Regions from separate parts of the Homo sapiens genome. Here regions 2, 3 and 4 are each linked to region 1. Evidence: promoter capture Hi-C in 16 types of primary human blood cells and fetal thymus (Javierre and others, 2016). All regions are on one chromosome and are shown on one strand. Each heading gives the region's core, a stretch centred on a gene start or on the middle of the fragment in contact. The rest is flanking DNA. Distances are from core to core; before and after follow the strand shown.

Region 1 (5,531 bases), core at 179-2,678:
CGGCTGGCGCTGGCTTCGTTTCTGTCTCCTGGCACTCTGGCTTTGCTTCTACGGGGCCCTTCCTGCAGAGAATCAGGAAAACAGAACCACTGAGACCACGGTCTGCAGACATCTCGCCCCTGCATCCAGGCCTTGGGGACAGCAGGGAGGAGGAGGGGTTCTCCAGTGACAGCACCCGGCTCCAACCTCTGCCCGTCAAATCACCTGGGAGCACTAAAAATCACCCAAGCCCGAGCTGTGTTCGCGGAAATCCTGATTTAATTGGTCCGGACACAGTGACTTTTAAAAGCACCCAAGTGACTCTAATGTGCAGCCATAGTTGAGAAGCACTGAGTCAGAAGAACGAGTCCTTTCCTCTTCCAGCCCTAAGTTGATGCCAGAGGCTGTGTTTTTACCTGGGGTGGTGGAAGGGGGCAGCAGAGGCAGCTCCTCCTCACCCTGACCAGCTGCAGTGGCAACAGCTCAGCTGGATGTAAATGCAGCCTGCTGGGCTGGGCTGGGCTCCCAGCACTGATTTCAGGGGCCCCTTTGCAACCCACTCTTGCCTGTCCCTTCCCCACCCCACCCTGTGCTGTTGCAGGATGATGCCTCTAGGGCCTGCCTGGGTAGGGTGAGAAAACACTGATGGAGGCAGCTTTTCATGGCAGCCTGGTGGGGTACTAGAGTGGGCCTGGTGGCTATGCGAGAGTTGAGGGCAGCTGAGTGGGCAGGGCTATCAGAGTCCTTTTCCCTCCCGATGCTGAGATTCAGGGCTCCTGGCGAGAGCCCCTTGCAGCCCATGGTGGCAGCATGGCAGCTTATCTGGGGAGCAGCCATAGGAGCCTCTATAAAAATCTAGGTCTGACTCTGCCTCCATCAGTTCCAGGAAAGGGAGTCGGGTCTGAGGATGCATGGGGACAGGCACAGACCCCAGCCTCAGCTGGTGCCACTGAATTTTGGCAAGACACTTACAAACCTGAAAGGTTAAGGCCTTTCTCTTGAACTTTGAGACCCAGCAGCCATTTGATGCTGGGGAGCCCCGAGTCTTCCCAGCCACTCTAAGAGCAGGAGAAGCAAGAGTGGGCTGGGGGCCGGGGTTGGGAGGGGAGGGTGAGCATCTGAGCCACAGTGTGAGGGGACCTCTGAACTGCACCCTCCCCTGCCACGGGCCTGGGGCCTACCTCTTTTCTTCCTGCACATCAGTGCCTTTCTGGTAGGGACTCAGCCTGGCACTGAATAACACACCGACTGGGGGCCCCAGGGTGGCTGATAAGGGCACCTTGGCCTTCTTAGCCTGCTTCCCAAGCTATTCTCATCAGTGGCCTGACTGCAAGGGCTCCCCCAGGGAAAACAGAAGCCGCTGCTAGGATGATAAGGATAAAACATAATTAACATGGCCTAATTAGCCAGCAGGCGGCTGCTCCTGGGGCCCAGCTGCCTGTCCTGCTCTCTCTGCCTTATCCCAGCCCCTTGGTTGACGGTCGCCTCAGAGAAGCCCTGGATGAGGCTGAAGACACATCTAACAAGGAGGACACAGCACAGCACAAATGCACACCACCACAGGACACAACCCGATGACAGCAGACAAAGAGAGGCCGTACTCGGTCTTTGCTGGCGCAGGCGAAACAGAGCTGTCTGCAGTGGAAGGAGCAAGCTCAGGGGCTTGTCCACTGGCCCCAGCGGCGGGAGCAGGAGAGCCCAGGGCTGCAAAAACATCCTTTGCAAGGTCAATATCTGGGGTCTTGAAGTTCCCTTCGTCCATTTTAAAGTCCTCGCCCTGGGAAGGGTTTGTGGTGCTGACGGAGGCAGCCTCGCTCTTCGGGCTAGCAAGGGCTGTGGCTGCCTCGGCCGGGCTCTTCGCGGCTCCGGGCTGGGTGGGCTCCGGGTCCGGGCCTTTGGTGCTGGGAGCCTCCTGCTTGGCCTGAGGGGCTTCTGTGGCAGGGGCAGCCGCTGCTGCTAGAGGACTGGCTGCCCCAGTCGGGGTGGGGACTGGTGCAGGGGTGGGCTTGCTGGCCGGAGGAGCCTTAGAGGCCTCCCCGACACCAGCAGGGGCGCTTGGGCTGAGGACAGCCCCTTGGTTAGCCAGGACACTAGAAGACAAATTGCTAGCGGCAGGGGTTGAGGTCGGGGTGTCGCTCAGGTCAACGAGGGGGGCGACCTTGGGGGCTGAAGCTGGGGCCGGGGAGGGGGCAGAGGCGCTGGGCCCCTTGGAAGGGGTGGCCTGGCCAGCCGGTACAGAGTTTGAGTCAGGCGTGGCCGTGGCCGGCGGGGCAATACTGGAGGTCAGGGTGGTGGTCTCACTGGTGGGGCTGTTCTGAGCAGTGGCAAAGGTTTCGGTGATAGTGTCAGAGTTAGTGGTGACGGTGGTGACAGAAGGCAGCATGTCCTCGACAGTGGCCGTAGTGTCGGCAGGCAGCCTGTGGGAGGACAGGAAGTAGAAGAGAATAGACAATGAAGCTGAGACGTGACAGAGAAGCGAGGAGGAGGGCTGAAGCCCAGGACAGGGACCATGGGGGTGGGGGCATGCAGTTAGGCACAGGCACGGACACAGGCCCACAGAGAGAGAAGGATGCTGAGAGGAAGCACACGCCCAGGTGGGCAGAAGAGGACACAGGAGACGACAGAGAACGTGGCGGTCTCAAAAGGGACCTGCTAGCCCTTCCCTGCTGATGTCTCTCCAGCTCTCTGCATAGAGCTCCCTTTCCCTGAAGTCCTTGCAGACCTGCCTAGGGCTTCCTGATCCCTGCCCTGGATCTCCATTCAAGGAGGGGCAGGCTTCTGTTCAGCATCCACCTGCTCTAGGCTTCCCAGGTCCCAGAGGAACTGGGCCCAGCTGTCCTGCAGGGCTCCCCAGGGCACCGATGGGAAAAGTCACGAATAAGGCAGATCACGAGTACTCAGAATGGCTCATAGGAGCTGTGGGTTCTTCCAGTCACAGATTTTGTGGTTCCCTGAAACTCCATTCCCTTTAAGCCCATAAGATCCTTGACAGCTAGGCAGGCATTACAACCACAACTGGTCTGGGGCTCCGTGGGTCCCCGAGGTTTCTGAACAGAGGAGGGGCAGAGAACTTTACCAGGTCCCCAGCTTCCCTTATCCTTTCAGGGGGAAAACACAAAACCCTAGAATTTCAAGAAATCCTAAGCAGACTCTGCTAAGCCTTTCAGTGAGATTTTGCCACCTTAAGCCATTTCCAGAATATGTGTATAACTTGAGAACAGGGGCTAGGGATCCAGGGATCCCTACTTATACAGGAGCCTTCTAAGGGTACCCACAGCCACCGAAATAGAACCAGAAATGCCTGAGGTCAGGCATTTCTCAGCCAAGCAGGTCTTGTGGCCAAGGGTTTGGAATCCTGGCCTGAACTGTTTGGCCGGGAGCTGTGGGTAGGGGCACGGGAGGTGGGGGTAGGGTGGGGAGGTGGGTGTGGGGGTCTCTACGGAGCAGGTGCCAGCCCCTCCCAGCCCACGTACTCGGGCTCCGTCAGTGGCGTGGTCTCGTTGGGCTCTGTGTGTTTCCCTCCATCATGGTTTGGGGTCCTCTCCTCCTCCGTTCGAACCTCCACGATGGGCTCCTTGGACTCATCTTTCCTGTGGAGACAGTACTGCTGGTTAGACCCTAGGGCAGCTGCAGGGAGGGGCTCCCACGGAAGAGCAGCTATGACTCAACCCAAGGCTGGCACGGTGGGCATCCAGAGCCAACAGATTCAAATGTATAAGTCTCAGCCCAACCCTTGCTAGCTGTGTGACCTTGAGCTTCAGATTTAATCACCCTGCCTCAGTCCCTTCATCTGTAAAATGAGGCAAAAACACTGTTACTTTGCCTAGTTATGAGAATTCAATGAAAGGATGCATGGGAAGTGCTAAACACAGTGCCTGACACAGATCATTGCTCAAATACATACATCTGTCTCTGTACACAGGTATACATACATTTCTTTTCCTTTCCTTTTCTTTTTTTTTTTTTTTTTTTTTTTTTTTGAGACAGAGTCTCTCTATGTCGCCCAGGCTGGAGTGCAGTGGCGTGATCTTGGTTCGTTGCAACCTCCGCCTCCTGGGTTCAAGCGATTCTCCAGCCTCAGCCTCCTGAATAGCTGGGATTACAGGAGCATGCCACCACGCCTGGCTAATTTTTGTATTTTTAGTAGAGGCGGGGCTTCGCCATGTTAGCCAGGCTGGTCTCCAACTCCTGACCTCAAATGATCCATCCATCTCGGCCTCCCAAAGTGCTGGGATTACAGGCGTGAGTCACCCCTATACATACATTTCTAAGTACATGCACATACATGTATATGCATATACAGTGCCTGGCATGTGGTGGTGCTAAACAACTTATTTCCTTGCTCAGTCCCTTTCTGGCTTGCTCCAGCTCTGCTCCACCCAGTGACAGTCTTCGAAGGCTCTTGCTAACTGGCTTAGGATCTGTTTCTCCAAGATGCTGTTGGAGGGACAGTATCTGGATCATCAGCTCCATAAGGACAAGAATTTCTATCTGTTTGTTCCCTGTTGTACCTATGTGCCTGGGAACAGTGCCTTGCCTGCAGCAGCTGCTTGATAAATATTTGTTGAGTGATGGATGAATGAATGAATAAACAATGTACGAAAGCAAGGTAAGTGTGTCCCTCTAATGCTGCCCTACCCCATGGCAGCTCCTCCCCAGGTTTAGTTCTGACAATTTCCCTCATTTTGACCTACACAGGGATTTTCACACTCTGGGGAGATTCTAATACAAGAGATCTGGGATTGGGCTCAAGAGTCTACATTTCAAACAGGTAACCCCCAAAGACCATGCTTTGAGAAACTTTTCTCTAATGTTTTTCCCCCATCAGGGTTCCAAATGGAGAACGTGCAATGAAAGGAAAGGCACCAGCTGATGGCGCAGGGTGGTGCAGCTGCTGGGTCCCTGGGCTGGAGCAGAGCCCAAACCTCAGCAAGGTGGACAGGTCTGCACTCACGAGAAGGCGGCCTTGCCCTCCTCCATGTCCTTGCCCTTGGCCCCGGGCCCGGCTTTTCCACACAGGTTGACCGCAATGCACATGAACAGGCCACACTTGTTCAGGAAGTAGCAGGTGATGTCCACAACCACCAGGAGCAGGACGAAGATGACGATGAGGATGCCCACGATGGCCCCGGTGCTCAGGCCTGAGGTGGGGCTGCCGTTGGCTTGAGTGGGAGAGAGATGGCTGGTGGTTAACAGACTGAGATGCGAGACCTCCAGACCCTGCCAGCAAAAGCCCCTGCGGGTGGGGAGGGCCCAGAGGACAGAGTCATGGCATTCATGCCCAGAGTGACACCTTCCTGGGGACCTTCTATGCCCCAGAATTGAGAAAACAGGGTCTTTCTATACCTTCCAGAGGGAGGGATGACAACATCATCTCACAGATTGGGGAACAGGGGTGAGCCTGGTCAGCTGGCCTCCCGTGAGTCCTGGGAGCAGACTGAGCCCCGCCTGTCTGAGAACACCGGATAATGAGGCAGTTGGAGGGCGCTGCTGTGTTTCCCCTGGACCAGGGCAAAAGGCTTTGCAGCACAGGCAGGCAGTGATCACTGATT
Region 2 (4,810 bases), core at 2,273-4,772, 1.0 Mb after region 1:
ATATGTTGCTCAGGCTAGACTCAAACTCCTAAGCTCAAGTAATTCTCCTATCCCAGCCTCTCAAGTAGCTGAGACTATAGGGGCACACCACCAGACCCAGTTCAAAACAGCTTACATACACTTTTCATTTAATATACATAAAAGTATGTAAGACTGATATTACTGCCTTAATTTTAGAAGTGGAGACTAAAGCTCAGATAGTTTAAAAACTCTCCCAAAGCAAGGACTCTGAACAGGACCCAATACTAAAGTTCTGTCACATTCTTTCTGCTACCCCAACTTGCCTACACAGCATATTATGTAAATAAAAATTTTATTGAGATATAATTCACATACCATCAAATTCAATTTGGTAGTTTTTAGTATATTCACAAGGTTGTGAAACCATCACCACTATCTACTTCCAGAACATTTCCATCATCTCCAAAAGAAACCCCAAATCAATGAGCAGTCATAGTCATTTCCCATTCCCCGCACCATCCCTAGTCCCTGGCAATCACTTTCTGTCTCTGTGGATTCGCTTCTTCTGGATATTTCATTTTTTCAATATTTCACATTTCTGTCTCTGTGGATTTTCATATTTCTGTCTCTGTGGATTTGCTTCTTCTGGATATTTCATTTCATTTCATAGAAATGAAAGCATACAATATGTGGTCTTTTGTGTCTGGCTTTTTTCACTGAGCACAGTCATTTCAAGGTTCATCCATGTTGTCGCATGTATCGGTACTTGATTTATTTTTATAGCTAAACAATAGTCCATTGTAAGAACATACCACATTTTGTTTATCCATTCATAAGTTGATGGACACTTGGATTGTTCCCACTTTTTAGCTATTATGAATAATGCTCCTATAAACATTCATGTACAAGTTTTTGTGTGGACATACATTTTTAATTCTCCTGGGTATATACCTATGAGTGGAGTTCCTGGACCATATAGTAGTAACTCTATGTTTAGCTTTCTGAGGAAATGCCAAACCGTTTTCCAAAGTGGCTACCTCATTTTATATTTCCACCAGAAATGAATGAGGGTTCAACTTCTCCATATCCATGCCAACTCTTATTATTACCTGTCATTTTGACAGTAGTAATTCTAGCTGTAAAGAGGTATCTCATTCAAGTTTTGATTTGCATTTTCCTAATAACTAATAATGTCGAGCATCTTTTCACATGTCTATTGGCCATTTGTACATTTCTTTGGAGAAAGTATTCAAATCTTTGCTCATTTTTAAATTGGGATATTTGTCTTTTTGTTATTGAGTTGTAATCTTTATATATTCTAGAAACTAGGCCCTTTTCAGATATATGATGTAGATTATCTTTTCACTTTTTTTTTTTTTTTAGATGGAGTCTCACTCTGTTGCCCAGGCTGGAGTAAAGTGGTGCAATCTTGGTTCACCGTAACCTCTGCCTCCCGGGTTCAAGCAATTCTCCTGCCTCAGCCTCCTGAGTAGCTGGGATTACAGGCACACACCACCACGCCTGGCTAATTTTTGTATTTTTAGTAGAGACGAGGTTTCATCATGTTGGCCAGGCTGGTCTCGAACTCCTGACCTCAGGTGATCCACCCTCCTTGGCCTCCCAAAGTGCTGGGATTACAGGCGTAAGTCACCGTGCCCAGCCCTTTTCACTTTCTTGATAGTGGCCTTCAAAGAACAAAAGCTTTTAGTTTTGAAGTCCAATTTATCTATTTTTCCTTTACTTATTTTTGCCTCAGGCATCATGTCTAATAACTGTTGCTTAAACCAAGGTTATGAAGATTTATACCTATGTTTTTTCCTAAGAGTTTTATAGTTTTACATGTAGGCCCTTGGTTCACCTTGAGTTAATTTTGTATATGGTACGAGTAGGGCTCCAACTTTATTCTTTTGCATGTGCATATTCAGTTGACCCAGCACCATTTATTTCCCCATTGAGTTGTCTTGTTACCCTTGTCAAAACCCAGTTAATAATAAATGTGTGGGTATGTTTCTGAAATCTCAATTCTATTTCATTGATGTATATGTCTATCCTTATGTCAGTACCACACTGTCTTGATTACTGTAGCTACACAGTAAATTTTAAAATTGGGAAGTGTGAGTCCTCAAACTTTGTGAGTTTTGTTTGTTTGTTTTCAAGATCATTTTGACTATCCTGAGTGTATTGTTATAGTTTTCCGTATACAAGTCTTGCACTTGTTTTGTTAAATGTATTCAATTGACCCATCTTCAAGTTCACCAATACTTTCTTCTACCAGTTCAAATATGCTGTTGAGTTCTTCTGGTGACTTTTTAAAATCGTAGTTATTGTACTTTTCCATTGCAGAATTTCTATTTGGCTCTTTTTATCATTTTAATCTCTTTATTACTATTCTTTACTTGGTGAGACAATCACCAAAATCAATCTCATACTTTCCTTTAATTCTTTAGACATGATTTTTTCTAGTTCTTTGAACGTATTTATAAAGCTGAGTTAACGTCTATGTCAAGTTCAGCGTGTGGGCTTCCTCAGGGACAGTTTCTGTTTACCTGGGATGTTTTTTTCTTCTGTATAAGCCATACTTTCTTGTTTATTTGTATATCTTATAATTTTTCTTGAAAACTGAACATTTAAAAAACATGAAGCCAAGCAAAGTGACTTATGCCCATAATCCCAGCACTTTGGGAGGCTGAGGCAGGAGGATTGCTTATGCCCAGGAGTTCAATAACAGTCTGGACAACATAGCAAGACTCTACAAAAACTATAAAAATTAACCAGGTGTGATGACACGTGCCTATAGCCCCAGCTACTTGGGAAGCTGCAGCAGGAGGATCACTTAAGCCCAAGAATTTGAGGCTGCAGTGAGCTATGATTGCACCACTTCACTCCAGCCTGGGCAATAGTGAGACTGTGTCTCAAAAAAATAAATAAATACATACATACACACACACACACACACACACACACACACACAAATGTGACAACTTTGGACACCAGACTCCCTTCTCCTCCCTGAGTTTGTTTTTGTTGCTGTTTGTTATTCTTTTTTATTGTTGTTGTTGCTGCTGTTTGTTTTATGACTTTCCTAAATTAATTATGTGAAGTCTGTATTCTTTATCATGTGTAACCACCAAAGTCTCTGTTCTGTTTGCTTATTGACCAGCTAATAAATAGATTTTTAAAAAATTTCTTTAACTAATAACTCTGGAACCAACAAGTCTCCCAGTCTTTGCTAAGCACTTCTGCATGTGTGTTTTGGGGAATGCCTTCAGTGATCAGATAGGCAGTTTACAGCTCTACCTTAGCCTTTACTTCTTACTTGTGCAGAGCCTCAAGGTCGGCCAGAGGTGAGTAATTAGGGCCTCCTCAGGTCTTTCCTGGGAATGTGTGTAGCCCTGCACATGCACATGGCTTTTTAGATTCCCAGGGATTCGTCCAAGCTTTTCAAACCCCCTATAGACATCTCATTCCTCAGGGGTTTATTTTACATTTTACACAACTCTGAATTTCACTTGCTGGTATTCACATCTTCTCAATGGCTTTCTTCAAACAGCAGATGCTGAAATGACAGGCGTAAAAGAAAACCATATTCAGGACATTCCCTTTCTTGAGCAAAACTGCAATTTGCAAAATCATCGGTGACAGGTAATGGTGACTGGTGATTCATTCCTGGTGATGTCTTGGGCCAAATTCCAGAATCCAATGTATATTCAGAAGGGGCAGGGAGAAGATCTGCATGTATGACTTCACCCAGAAGCCCTGGCATATAAACAAGAGGTGAGTTGTCAGTTTCACCCAATTCCAGGCCTAGCACTTTCCAAACAGACTGAGACCATGGCAGTCTTCCATGACATGCTGCTGCAGCCACTGGGGATGTTTCTGTGCCTCAGTCTGCAGCTTTCTTCTGCCACCTTTATAAGGTACAGTAGCACCTGCTTCACCTTTGATGAATACTACACCATAACCCTAGACATCAAGGCCAGTTCACATATCTACGAAAGCAATGCAGTCTATTCTGGTGAGTAGAAGCCATGCTCTCTGCTGTCCTTTGTTCCCTGAGGGAAATTAACCAGAATTTCAGAACACACCCCTCTATCGCTACTCTCAATTATACAAAACATGTGTCTTCTGAACCAAATGGGAAGCAAGGGAAGGAAGACAAAGAATGAGAATTAAGGGAGTGGGCTGGGGGGCTATTTCTGCAAATTCCTTGTGAACTCAAGCCACAGGAGCGAGAAAGCCCCAACCCCAGATTCACTGAGTCCCAGCAAGAGCACACTTGGGGTAGATTCTCTGACTTAAATAAAATGGGCAGTTTTATCATTTTAAGGGATAATCATTGCATTCCAGTGTATAATCTTTTCTCTTTTTGTTTTTGTTTTTCTGGAGACAGAGTCTCACTTTGTCACCCAGGCTGGAGTGTAATGGTACAATTTCAGCTCACTGCAACCTCCGCCTCCTGGGTTCAAGCAATTCTTGTACCTCAGCCTCCCAAGTAGCTGGGATTACAGGTGCACACCACCACGCCTGGCTAATTTTTTGTATTTTAGTAGAGATGGGGCTTCTCCATGTTGACCAGGCTGGTCTCGAACTCCTGGCTTCAAGTGATCCACCCACCTCAGTCACCCAAAGTGCTGGAATTACAGGTGTGAGCCACTGTACCCAGCCTCCAGTGTGTAATCTTTTCATATCTATTTGACAATATGATGCCTCTGGGGATAATTGTGTACTGCATTTAGTCCGTGGGTGAAAAAAATCTAATAAACAACACAGGGGAAGTATTACTAACCCACTTTATGTATGAAAAGCCTGAGACCAAGGGAAATTAAATGACCTGCCCAGAGTCTCCCTT
Region 3 (5,244 bases), core at 2,423-4,922, 1.1 Mb after region 1:
AGGCCTGGTGGACGGGCTGGTCTTCGTCGTGTGCCAAACACTGACCACTGCCCTGGCTCTGCCATCTTAGGCTTAGTGACCTGGCTGTTACTAAGCACTGTCCCCTCTGCCCCATGCAGCTGTCTCCTTCTAGTCTTCTCCCTCTTCTCAACGCGATCCTAGCCCCTCAGGCCATTTCACCTCCATTTTCCCTCACTTCCCGCCGCCCCTCCGCACTTCCTCCCTACTGTTGTTTCCGCCCCACTAGAGCCCCTCAGAGGAAGTTTCCATCCTCGCACCCTTCCTTGTGTCACAGTCCGTCACATTCTCACAGGCGCCCATCCCTCCAGCCCCACCCCAAGGCCAATGTACTTCGCGGTATGGGGACCTTCCTCGTCAGCGAACGCGAGGGAGTGAAGACCCCGGGCGCGGGGTGCTCGGACTTCGGGGGTGGAGGTGGGAAGCGCGCCGCACTCCCAGCAGCCCCTGCACGAGTCACGTGACAGCTCTCCCACCACCACCCCCCCCAACTTCCCCACCGTAGCCTCCCAGAGCCAGGCCCCACGGAAAGGCAGCTTTTTCCCGGTTTTCTCCCGCTCTTTCCCCTCCACTTGGAATACTCGTGAAACAAAAATCTCTCCCTGCCACCCTGTGTGTGTTTGAACCAGGAAAAAATCTGAAACTGGTCAAGAAAGAACAAGGAAGACTTGCCAAAGCAAGGCCGGTGTGTGTCCCAGCAGCTTAGAATCTCAGCAAAGGAACACAAAATAGCACATCCACGGCCTCTTTTCGAGTAAAATTTACTTGGTTTGTTTGCAGGAAGGGTTTAAAACTGCGTTTGCAGATGCTCTGTTTGCAGGAAGGCTTTAATCACGTGTTCCCCTGGCCCACAAGCAAGGCTTTTAGATCCAGAGCCTCAGTTACTGCCCCCTCTTCCTCTTTGGTGCAACCAAACGTTCAGAATCACGCCTTCTTAGAAAATTCTTCCCCGGGTGTGTCAATAAGTTAAGTCTAATTGGCAACAGCTATCAAAAAGTGTTGCATAACACACATGGCTCACATAATTGTAGCTTTGCCTCATCGGGTGCTTTAATGCGGAGGCTTTGACCTGCAATTTCAAAGATATACATTCCAAGCTTACGCCCAGTTAGTGGATGTGGAAGAAAAAAAAAAGCAAATTACCTCATAACACAAAGGTCAATAACACACATCCATAAGCTCCAGGTACAAAATCTTACATCTTAGAGAACTATATTTAACATTTACATACATTACTAAGGTTTTTTTTTTCCTTTTGCTTGATTAAATGTTAGTTATCATTAAGTCTTGGAAGTATTCTGTGTGTGTATATTTATTTGCTGTTTGTGAAGAAGCCGGTTGTTTTAAATAAGTTCCTAGAAAATAAGCGCTCAATGTGTTTAATCTGAGTTGCTAATATTGTGAAATATAGGCCACATAATACTAGCCTAGATAACTATGGCGAAGTAAGGAGTCTCAAACACTGTCCCAGAACAATAGCAATCTGTGTTGAATTTTTACCCTCTGTGGTAAAATGAAGGGAAAAGGAATGAAGTTTTAGTTTGCCTTAATTTTTATCTTTATTGTTTCAGACTCTTCAGCAGTATAAAGTTTTCATCAAGTCAAATATATTCACTTTAAAGTGACTGTGCTTTATTCTGATACCATGTCCTTCCTAATTTGGGGGGCACAGGTGAGATAAGTTTTATGAAATAAAAAGATTAAAAATTCTTACATTTTTAGTGTCCTTCCTTGGTAAAATGTAGAGTTGTCCACTGTGTTTATCTCCTCCTCCTTATTATCATGGTTGCTGTTATTATTTTTAATGGTTCATTAAACCCAAGGGTCTGGGAAATACTCATGGAATTCATCTCACAGCCTTCACACTGTATGATATTTAAACAGGTGGTTGTCCATCTGATTCTTAAAATATTTCCAAGAAAAATGATTCCACCTAATGCATAAATGCTTTCATCAGATTAAGAGAACACCATGGACATTTTATTTTCTTTTATTTTTTAAATATTAACTTCCATTGCATAAGCTAAATGGGTAGGAATAAGTGAGATGATATTGTTATCTAGAGCTTTAAAATATTCAAAGGGCTGTCATCATTATCTCATTTAATCTTTGAAAACAACTCTATGAAGTACAAAGGACACTGAGACATTTGTTGCTCTATATCAAAGAAAAAAGTGTTTGTCCCAAAACTTCAAAATGTGTAAATTACACATTCTGCATCTTTACAGCTGGAGAAAATTCACTGGCAATGGAATATTTAAAATTAGAGCTTGCTTAGTGTGCTGCTTCTGATCACTACTTGATCCCACTTCGTGCTTTCATGTTAATTGGCCCAATTGGACTCTACAGTTGGAAGGTGAAAACTTACTATTTCAACTTGAGTCACGTATGTATTCTTATCATATACTTCTTAAAGGTACTATTTTTTTTCTTCTGATAGTCACCACACCAAGCACTTCCAGCCACCCTGCCACAGACTTCCTTTGTAATCACTGTTGAAGGACATGATGTTTTTATGACTTCCCGAAATGAAAACCCTATCTTGTTTTTAAAACAAACAAACCAACAAAAAGTAGTGTTTATGTAAGCATTTTGTTCCCTGACTCTAGGAACCCCTCTGTTTTTATATCAACTCTGTACTGGCAAAACACAAAAACAAAATGCCACCTTGCTAATTCCCTTCCTAGCAAAGTAATACAGTTTAGCACATGTTCAAGAAAAAAATGGCTAAGAAATTTTGTTTCCACTAATTATTTTCAAGACTGTGATATTTACACTCTGCTCTTCAAACGTTACATTTTATAAGACTATTTTTTAACATGTTGAACATAAGCCCTAAATATATGTATCCTTAAATTGTATTTCAAATATTTTAGGTCAGTCTTTGCTATCATTCCAGGAATAGAAAGTTTTAACACTGGAAACTGCAAGTAAATATTTGCCCTCTTACCTGAATTTTGGTATCCCTCTCCCCAAGCTTACTTTCTGTTGCAGAAAGTGTAAAAATTATTAAATAAAATTCTAATGATGGTATCCGTGTGGCTTGCATCTGATACAGCAGATAAAGAAGTTTTATGAAAATGGACTCCTGTTCCACTGAAAAGTAAATCTTAATGGCCTGTATCAACTATCCTTTGACACCATATTGAGCTTGGGAGGAAGGGGAAGTCCTGAATGAGGTTATAAAGTAAAAGAAAATATTTGCAAAATGTTCCTTTTTTTAAAATGTTACATTTTAGAAATATTTTAAGTGTTGTAACATTGTAGGAATTACCCCAATAGGACTGATTATTCCGCATTGTAAAATAAGAAAAAGTTTTGTGCTGAAGTGTGACCAGGAAGTCTGAAAATGAAGAGAGACAGATGACAAAAGAAGATGCTTCTAATGGACTAAGGAGGTGCTTTCTTAAAGTCAGAAAGAGATACTCAGAAAGAGGTACAGGTTTTGGAAGGCACAGAGCCCCAACTTTTACGGAAGAAAAGATTTCATGAAAATAGTGATATTACATTAAAAGAAGTACTCGTATCCTCTGCCACTTTATTTCGACTTCCATTGCCCTAGGAAAGAGCCTGTTTGAAGGCGGGCCCAAGGAGTGCCGACAGCAGTCTCCTCCCTCCACCTTCTTCCTCATTCTCTCCCCAGCTTGCTGAGCCCTTTGCTCCCCTGGCGACTGCCTGGACAGTCAGCAAGGAATTGTCTCCCAGTGCATTTTGCCCTCCTGGCTGCCAACTCTGGCTGCTAAAGCGGCTGCCACCTGCTGCAGTCTACACAGCTTCGGGAAGAGGAAAGGAACCTCAGACCTTCCAGATCGCTTCCTCTCGCAACAAACTATTTGTCGCAGGTAAGAAATATCATTCCTCTTTATTTGGAAAGTCAGCCATGGCAATTAGAGGTAAATAAGCTAGAAAGCAATTGAGAGGAATATAAACCATCTAGCATCACTACGATGAGCAGTCAGTATCAACATAAGAAATATAAGCAAAGTCAGAGTAGAATTTTTTTCTTTTATCAGATATGGGAGAGTATCACTTTAGAGGAGAGGTTCTCAAACTTTTTGCTCTCATGTTCCCTTTACACTAAGCACATCACATGTTAGCATAAGTAACATTTTTAATTAAAAATAACTATGTACTTTTTTAACAACAAAAAAAAAGCATAAAGAGTGACACTTTTTTATTTTTACAAGTGTTTTAACTGGTTTAATAGAAGCCATATAGATCTGCTGGATTCTCATCTGCTTTGCATTCAGACTATTGCAATATTGCACAGAATGTAGCCTCTGGTAAACTCTGTTGTACACTCATGAGAGAATGAGTGAAAAAGACAAATTACGTCTTAGAATTATTAGAAATAGCTTTCACTTTAGGAACTCCCTGAGAATTGCTGCTTTAGAGTGGTAAAATAAATAAGCTTCTCTTTAAACGGAATCTCAAGACAGAATCAGTTACATTAAAAGCAAACAAAAAATTTGCCCATGGTTAGTCATCTTGTGAAATCTGCCACACCTTTGGACTGGGCTACAATTGGATAATATAGCATTCCCCGAGATAATTTTCTTTCACAATTAAGGAAAGGGCTGAATAAATATCTCTGTTTGAAGTTGAATAACAAAAATTAGGACCCCCTAAATTTTAGGACTCCTGAAATTCGTCTTTTTGCCTATATTCAGCTACTTTACGTTCTATTAAATCTTCTTTCAGGCCAGGTGCACTAGCTCATGCCTAGAATCTCAGGCAGGCCTGAGCCCAGGAATTTGAGACCAGCCAGGGCAACACAGTCTCTACAAAAAAATAAAAAATTACCTGGGTGTGTTGGTGCATGCCTGTAGAACTACTCAGGATGCTGAGGACTGCTTGAGCCCAGGATAGCCAAATCTGTGGTGAGTTCAGCCACTAAACAGAGCGAGACTTTCTCAAAAAAACAAACAAAAAAACAAACAAACTTCCTTCAAAATAACTTTTTATCTGCAATGTTTTCCTATTGCCTGTGAGATTAAATTTACTCTTTTACCTGATTTCCAAAGCCCTCCATAATCTAATCCGACTTTACCTTGTGTTCACTGCAAAATAGCAGGACTGTTCCACTACAATCCAAAAATCACAGGTTGGGTGCAGTGGCTCACTCCTGTAATCCCAACACTTTGGAAGGCCAAGGCAGGTGGATTGCTTCAGCTCAGGAGTTCAAGACCAGCCTGGGCAACATGGCAAAAACCCTGTCTCTCCAAA
Region 4 (5,514 bases), core at 1,980-4,479, 1.1 Mb after region 1:
GCATATGATATTATAGATGTAAAAATCTAAAAGAATCTATAATTATTAGAATTTGTAAGTGTAATTACTATATTAGTGAATATAAAATCAACAAACAAAAATCAATTGCCGGCCAGGTGCGGTGACTCATTCCTGTAATCCCAGCACTTTGGGAGGCCAAGGTGGGTGGATCACTTGAGGTCAGGAGTTCAAGACCAGCCTGGCCAACATGGTGAAACCCCATCTCTACCAAAAAAATATGAAAATTAGCCAGGAATGGTGGCACATGCCTGTAGTCCCAGCTACTCAGGAAGCTGAGGTGGGAGTATTGCTCGAACTCAGGAGGCAGAGGTTGCAGTGAGCTGAGATCACACCACTGCACTCCAGCCTTGGTGACAGAGTGAGACCGTCACACTGTCTCAAAAAAAAAAAATTGCTATATAGCAACACTAACATAAAATGAAAGCAAAAAATAAACAACATTTAAAATAATGTAAAAAAAAAACCTAGGAATAAATCTAACAAAAGATGCAGAAAATATGTAACCAGAAAACTATAAACATTGAAAGAAATTAAAGAAGTCTCAAATAAATGGAAAGATATATTGTGTTCACGTACTGGAAGACTCAACATTGTGTAAAGAGGTTAGTCCTCTCTCAAATTGATACATTGGTTCAGTGCAAATAGAATTAAAATGTGACCATATTTTTGTGTGGGGAACTGACAGCTGATTCTAAAATTTCTACAAAAACGTGAAGGGCCAGGGATGGCCATGACACTCTTTTCAAAAGAAAAATATTAGGATAACTTGACACTAAACCTTAAGACTTTTTTAATGCAGTGCACAAGTAACCATAAGTAGAAACAATGGAACAGAATATACAGTCCAGAAACAGAATAATGCATATACAGATACTTGACTTCTCTAGAAGATAACATAGGATAATATTTTCATTACCTTGCCATGAGAAGATGTCTAAAACAAGATGTACAACGTATAAGTCATAAAGGAAGAGACTGTATACTGGGCCATATTAAGTTAAGAATGTTTATTCATTAAAAGGCACTATTAGGATAATCTGATAAAGATAGCTAGAAAAATACCTATAGCAATTTTATATTTAATAATGAATTATTAAACATTTTTCAACACTACCTATTCAACTTCTATTCACTATCTTGCACTTCTATTCAACTCGAAGTCCTAGCTGGTACAGTAAGGCGAGAAAAAGAAATAAAGCCCTAAGTATTAGAAAGAAAGCTGTCATTATTTTCAGGTAACATGACTGTGCACATAGAAAATCCAAAATAATCTGTGGATCAACTATTTGAACTAATAAGTGAATTTAGCAAGATCTCTGGATATGAAGATAATATACAAAATCAATTGCATTTCTATAAAGAGCAACAAACAGAAAATGAAAGCTTAAAAGATACCATTTACAATAATTTCAAAACACACAAAAAGAAATGTAGTATCTTTATACTGAAAACTATAACTTTACTGAGAGAAATTTTAAAAGACCCAAATAAATGGAGGGATATTCCATGTTCATGGATTGGAAGACTCAATATTGTAAAGATGTCAATTGTCTCCAAATTGATCTACAGTTGCAATATTGTATCAGGTTTTTTCCTTGCAAAAACTGACAAGTTGACATCAAATTTAAAAGTTTCTGCACAGCAAAGGAAACAATCAACAAAACGAAAAGGCGACCTATGGGCTGGGGAAAAAAATTGCAACCACATATCCAATAAGGAATTATACTCAAAATTTGTATATTTTTAAATTTTTTTGTAGAGATGAGGTCTTGCCATCTTGCCCAGGCTGATCTTGAACTGCTGGGCTCAAGCAATCCTCCCACCTTGGCCTCCCAAAGTGCTGGGATTACAGGCGTGAGCCACCACACCTGGCCTCAAAATTTATAAAGAACTCTTACAACTCAATACCAGAAAAACAAATAACCCAATTAAAAAATGGGAAAAGCCGGCCGCCGCCCCGTCTGGGAAGTGAGGAGCGCCTCTGCCCGGCCGCCCACCGTCTGGGAACTGAGGAACACCTCTGCCCAGCTGCCGCCCCTGCCGCCCCAGGAGTGCCTCTGCCCAGCCGCCCACCCTCTGGCAAGTGAGGAGCGCCTCTGCCCGGCCGCTGCCCTGTCTGGGAAGTGAGGAGCGCCTCTGCCTGGCCCCCACATTGTCTGGGATGTGAGGAGCGCCTCTGCCCGGCCCCCGCCCTGTCTGGGAAGTGAGGAGGACCTCTGCCCAGCTGCCGCCCGTCTAGGATGTGAGGAGCGCCTCTGCCTGGCCGCTGCGCAACCTTCCAAGTGTGAAGTGACAGCCTTGTGTGTGATCTTTTCTGTCTTCCCCAAGTTTGCATTTTCAATATTAAAGTTTACTTTTTAATTAAAAGTTAAAAATAAATTAATTAATTAATTAATTAAAAATAAATAAAAAATGGGCAATGGACCTGAACAGTCATTTCTCCAAAAATAGAGGCCAGGTGTGGTAGCTCACACTTGTAATCCCAGCACTTTGGGAGGCTGAGGCAGGAGGATCACTTGAGCCCAGAAGTTTGAGAAAAGCCTTGGCAACATAACAAGGCCCCTGTCTCTACAAAAAAGTTTTAAAAATATTAGCTGAGTGTGGTGCCATGCACCTGTAATCCCAGCTACTTGTGAGGCTGAGGCAGGAGGATCATGCATGCCCAGGAGTTTGACAGCAGCCTTGGCAACATAATAAGACCCTGTCTCTACAAAAAAGTTTTTAAAATATTAGCTGAGTGTGGTGCCACGCACCTGTAGACCCAGCTACTTGGGAGGCTGAGGCAGGAGGATCACGTGTTCCCAGGAGTTTGAGGCTTCAGTGAGCTATGATCATGCCACTGCACCCAGCCTGGGCAACAGAGTGAGATCCTGTCCCTAAAAGAATAAAATAAAAAATAAAATAAAATTTGAAAGTCCAATAGGCATATAAAAAGGTGCTCAACATCACTAACCATAAGGGAAATACAAATTAAAACCACTATATAAAACCTCACACTCATAAGGATGGCTATTATCAAAAAGACAAGAGATAACAAATGTTGGCAAGGGTGTAGAAGAAAGGGAACTCTAGTACATTGTTGGTGGGAATATAAATTGGTACAGCCATTATGAAAAACAGTATAGGAGTTCCTAAAGAAATAAAAAATACAGATGACCCTTGAACAACACGGAGTGGGGTAGAGGTGCCAACCCCCTACATAGTCGAAAATCCACACATAACTTTTGACTACTCAAAAATTTAACTACTAATAAACTATTGTTGACTGGAAGCCTTACCAATAACATACAGTTAATTAACACATATTTTGTATTTCATATGTATTATATACTGTATTATTACAATAAAGCAAACCAGATAAAAGAAAATAAGAAAATGTTATTAAAGGCTGGGTGTGGTGGCTCAAGCCTGTAATCCCAGAACTTTGGGAGGCCAAGGTGGGCAGATCATCTGAGGTCAGGAGTTCGAGAGCAGCCTGGCCAATATGACAAAACCCCATCTCTACTAAAAATACAACGGGCATGGTGGCAGATGCCTGTAATCCCAGCTACTCGGGAGGCTGAGGCTGGAGAATTGCTTGAACTGAGGAGGCGGAGGTTGCAGTGAGACGAGATCACGCCATTGCACTCCAGTCTGGGCAACAAGAGCAAAACTCTGTCTCAAAAAAAATAAAATAAAATGCTACTAAAAGTCATAAGGAAGAGCAAATATATTTACTATTCATTAAGTGGTAGTAGATCATCATAAAGGTCTTCATTCTCATTGTCTTCACATTGAGTAGTCTGAGGGGGAGGAAGAAGAGGGGTTGGTCTTGCTATCTCAGGGGTGGAGAGGTAGAAGAAAATTTGCATATAAGGACCCATGCAGTTCGAATCCATGTTGTTCAGGGTCAACTGTACAACATATGACCCAGCAATCCCTCTCCTGGGTATATACTCAAATGAGATGAAATCACCACCTCATGAAAATAGCTGCATTCTTACGTTCATTGTAGCATTATTCATAACAGTCAAGAAACAGAAACAACCTAAATACCCATTGACAGATGAATGGATAAAGAAAATGTGATATATACACACAATGGAGTATTACTCAATCTTAGAAAAGGAGATCCTGACGTCTGCTACAACATGGATGGACCTGGAAGACATTATGTTAAGTGAAACATCCAGACACAGAAAGAAAAATATTCTATGAGGCAGGGCGCTGTGGCTCACGCCTGTAATCCCAGCACTTTGGGAGGCCAACGCAGGCAGATCACCTGAAGTCAAGAGTTAGAGACCAGCCTGGCCAACATGGTGAAACCTGGTCTCTACTAAAAATACAAAAATTAGCCAGACATGTTGGTATGTGCCTGTAGTCCCAGCTACTCGGGAGGCTGAGGTAGGAGAATCACTTGAACCCGGGAGCAGAGGTTGCAGTAAGCCGAGATCGCGCCACTGCACTCCAGCCTGAGTGGCAGAGTGAGACTCCGTCTCAAAAAAAAAAGAAAAGAAAAAAAAATTGCATGATCTCATTTTTATGTGGAATTTTTTAAAGAAAATCTCAAATACACAGAGAAAGACAATGAAACAGTGGTTACCACCAGAGGGGAGGGGAAGGCAAAGACAAGATGTAGCTCAAAGGATACCAAACAGTAGATATGTAGTATGAACAAGTCTAGAGGTCTAACGTACAAACGTAAGAAATAAAGTTAATAAGATTGTATTCTATCAGAGATTTTTGTTAAACAAGTAGATTTTAACTGCTCTTGTCACACAAAAAAGTAACATGTGAGATGATAGATATGTTAATCTGCCTCACTATACTAACCATTTTAATATTTACATGTATCCCATAACATCATGTTGTAAACCTCAAATATATACAATGAATTTTATTTTTAAAACAAGAACAAAAACAAAACCTGATAAATGGATTCTAAAATTTATAGACATGCAAAAGGCCATGAAAAACCCAGGCAATCTTAAAACAGAAAAGAGATAAACAACCACAGATGTCAAGACCCACCATAAAGCTATAAGTAAGCTTAGTAAGGCATAAGTAAACTTAATAAGTACTATTTTACAAACATTTAAAAAGACAATTATAGCTAAAAAATAAAGCTACAGCTAGAAACAATGTATATTACATAATTCAAGGAAAAACTTTACCTTGGATTCAGCATCAGGAAAAAGTGAATCCCTTCAACTAGGTGGACTGATTGACGGTCTACTTTGCTATTCCTTCTAGCAAACTTTGGTGCTTAAGTGTAATAAGGAAATAAGGAACTATCACATATGCTTTTTTTTTTTTTTTTTGGAGATGGAGTCTTACTGTGTTGCACAGGCTGGGGTGCAGTGGTGCGATCTTGGTTCACTGCAACCTCCACCTCCTGGGTTCAAGTGATACTCCTGCCTGAGGCTCCCAAGTAGCTGGGATTACAGGCACCCACCACCACATCTGGCTAATTTTTGCATTTTTACTAGAGACGAGGTTTCACCATTTTGGTTG

What was found. Contacts are between HindIII fragments. The CHiCAGO score rates a contact against its expected background, and 5 or more counts as called.
Region 2: a contact is called between the fragment with the promoter of PLET1 here and the fragment with the promoter of NCAM1-AS1 in region 1, in 7 of 17 cell types (naive CD8 T cells, total CD8 T cells, non-activated CD4 T cells and 4 more). The highest score is 7.7, in naive CD8 T cells.
Region 3: the fragment with the promoter of IL18 here is called in contact with the fragment with the promoter of NCAM1-AS1 in region 1 in 3 of 17 cell types (total CD4 T cells, non-activated CD4 T cells and total B cells); the score reaches 7.2 in total CD4 T cells.
Region 4: a fragment that was not itself captured here is called in contact with the fragment with the promoter of NCAM1-AS1 in region 1 in 6 of 17 cell types (total CD4 T cells, naive CD4 T cells, naive CD8 T cells and 3 more); the score reaches 7.4 in total CD4 T cells.

What each region holds. Positions count from the first base shown.
Region 1 is chr11:113,269,798-113,275,328 of GRCh38, reverse strand. It overlaps NCAM1-AS1 (NCAM1 antisense RNA 1), which reads left to right and starts at 1,428. Exons shown (of 3, transcript NR_034101.1): 1 at 1,428-1,705; 2 at 4,808-5,125. NCAM1 (neural cell adhesion molecule 1) reads right to left here. Exons shown (of 20, transcript NM_181351.5): 18 at 4,934-5,141; 19 at 3,453-3,569; 20 at 1-62. The HindIII fragment of the contact is 7,964 bases long and covers 1-5,531 here.
Region 2 is chr11:112,259,572-112,264,381 of GRCh38, reverse strand. It overlaps PLET1 (placenta expressed transcript 1), which reads left to right and starts at 3,522. Exons shown (of 4, transcript NM_001145024.1): 1 at 3,522-3,976. The coding sequence starts at 3,793. LOC100132686 (a long non-coding RNA gene) reads right to left here and starts at 4,117. Exons shown (of 1, transcript NR_133566.1): 1 at 2,986-4,117. The HindIII fragment of the contact is 13,385 bases long and covers 3,401-4,810 here.
Region 3 is chr11:112,162,522-112,167,765 of GRCh38, reverse strand. IL18 (interleukin 18) reads left to right here and starts at 3,672. Exons shown (of 6, transcript NM_001562.4): 1 at 3,672-3,860. It overlaps TEX12 (testis expressed 12), which reads right to left and starts at 394. Exons shown (of 5, transcript NM_031275.4): 1 at 279-394. TEX12-AS1 (TEX12 antisense RNA 1) reads left to right here and starts at 623. Exons shown (of 3, transcript XR_001748384.2): 1 at 623-703; 2 at 1,590-1,690; 3 at 2,247-2,404. The HindIII fragment of the contact is 1,434 bases long and covers 2,998-4,431 here.
Region 4 is chr11:112,202,858-112,208,371 of GRCh38, reverse strand. The region is part of intron 8 of BCO2 (beta-carotene oxygenase 2); the gene reads right to left. Among named protein-coding and RNA genes, the nearest start is that of PTS, 21 kb to the left of the region's middle. The HindIII fragment of the contact is 3,645 bases long and covers 1,407-5,051 here.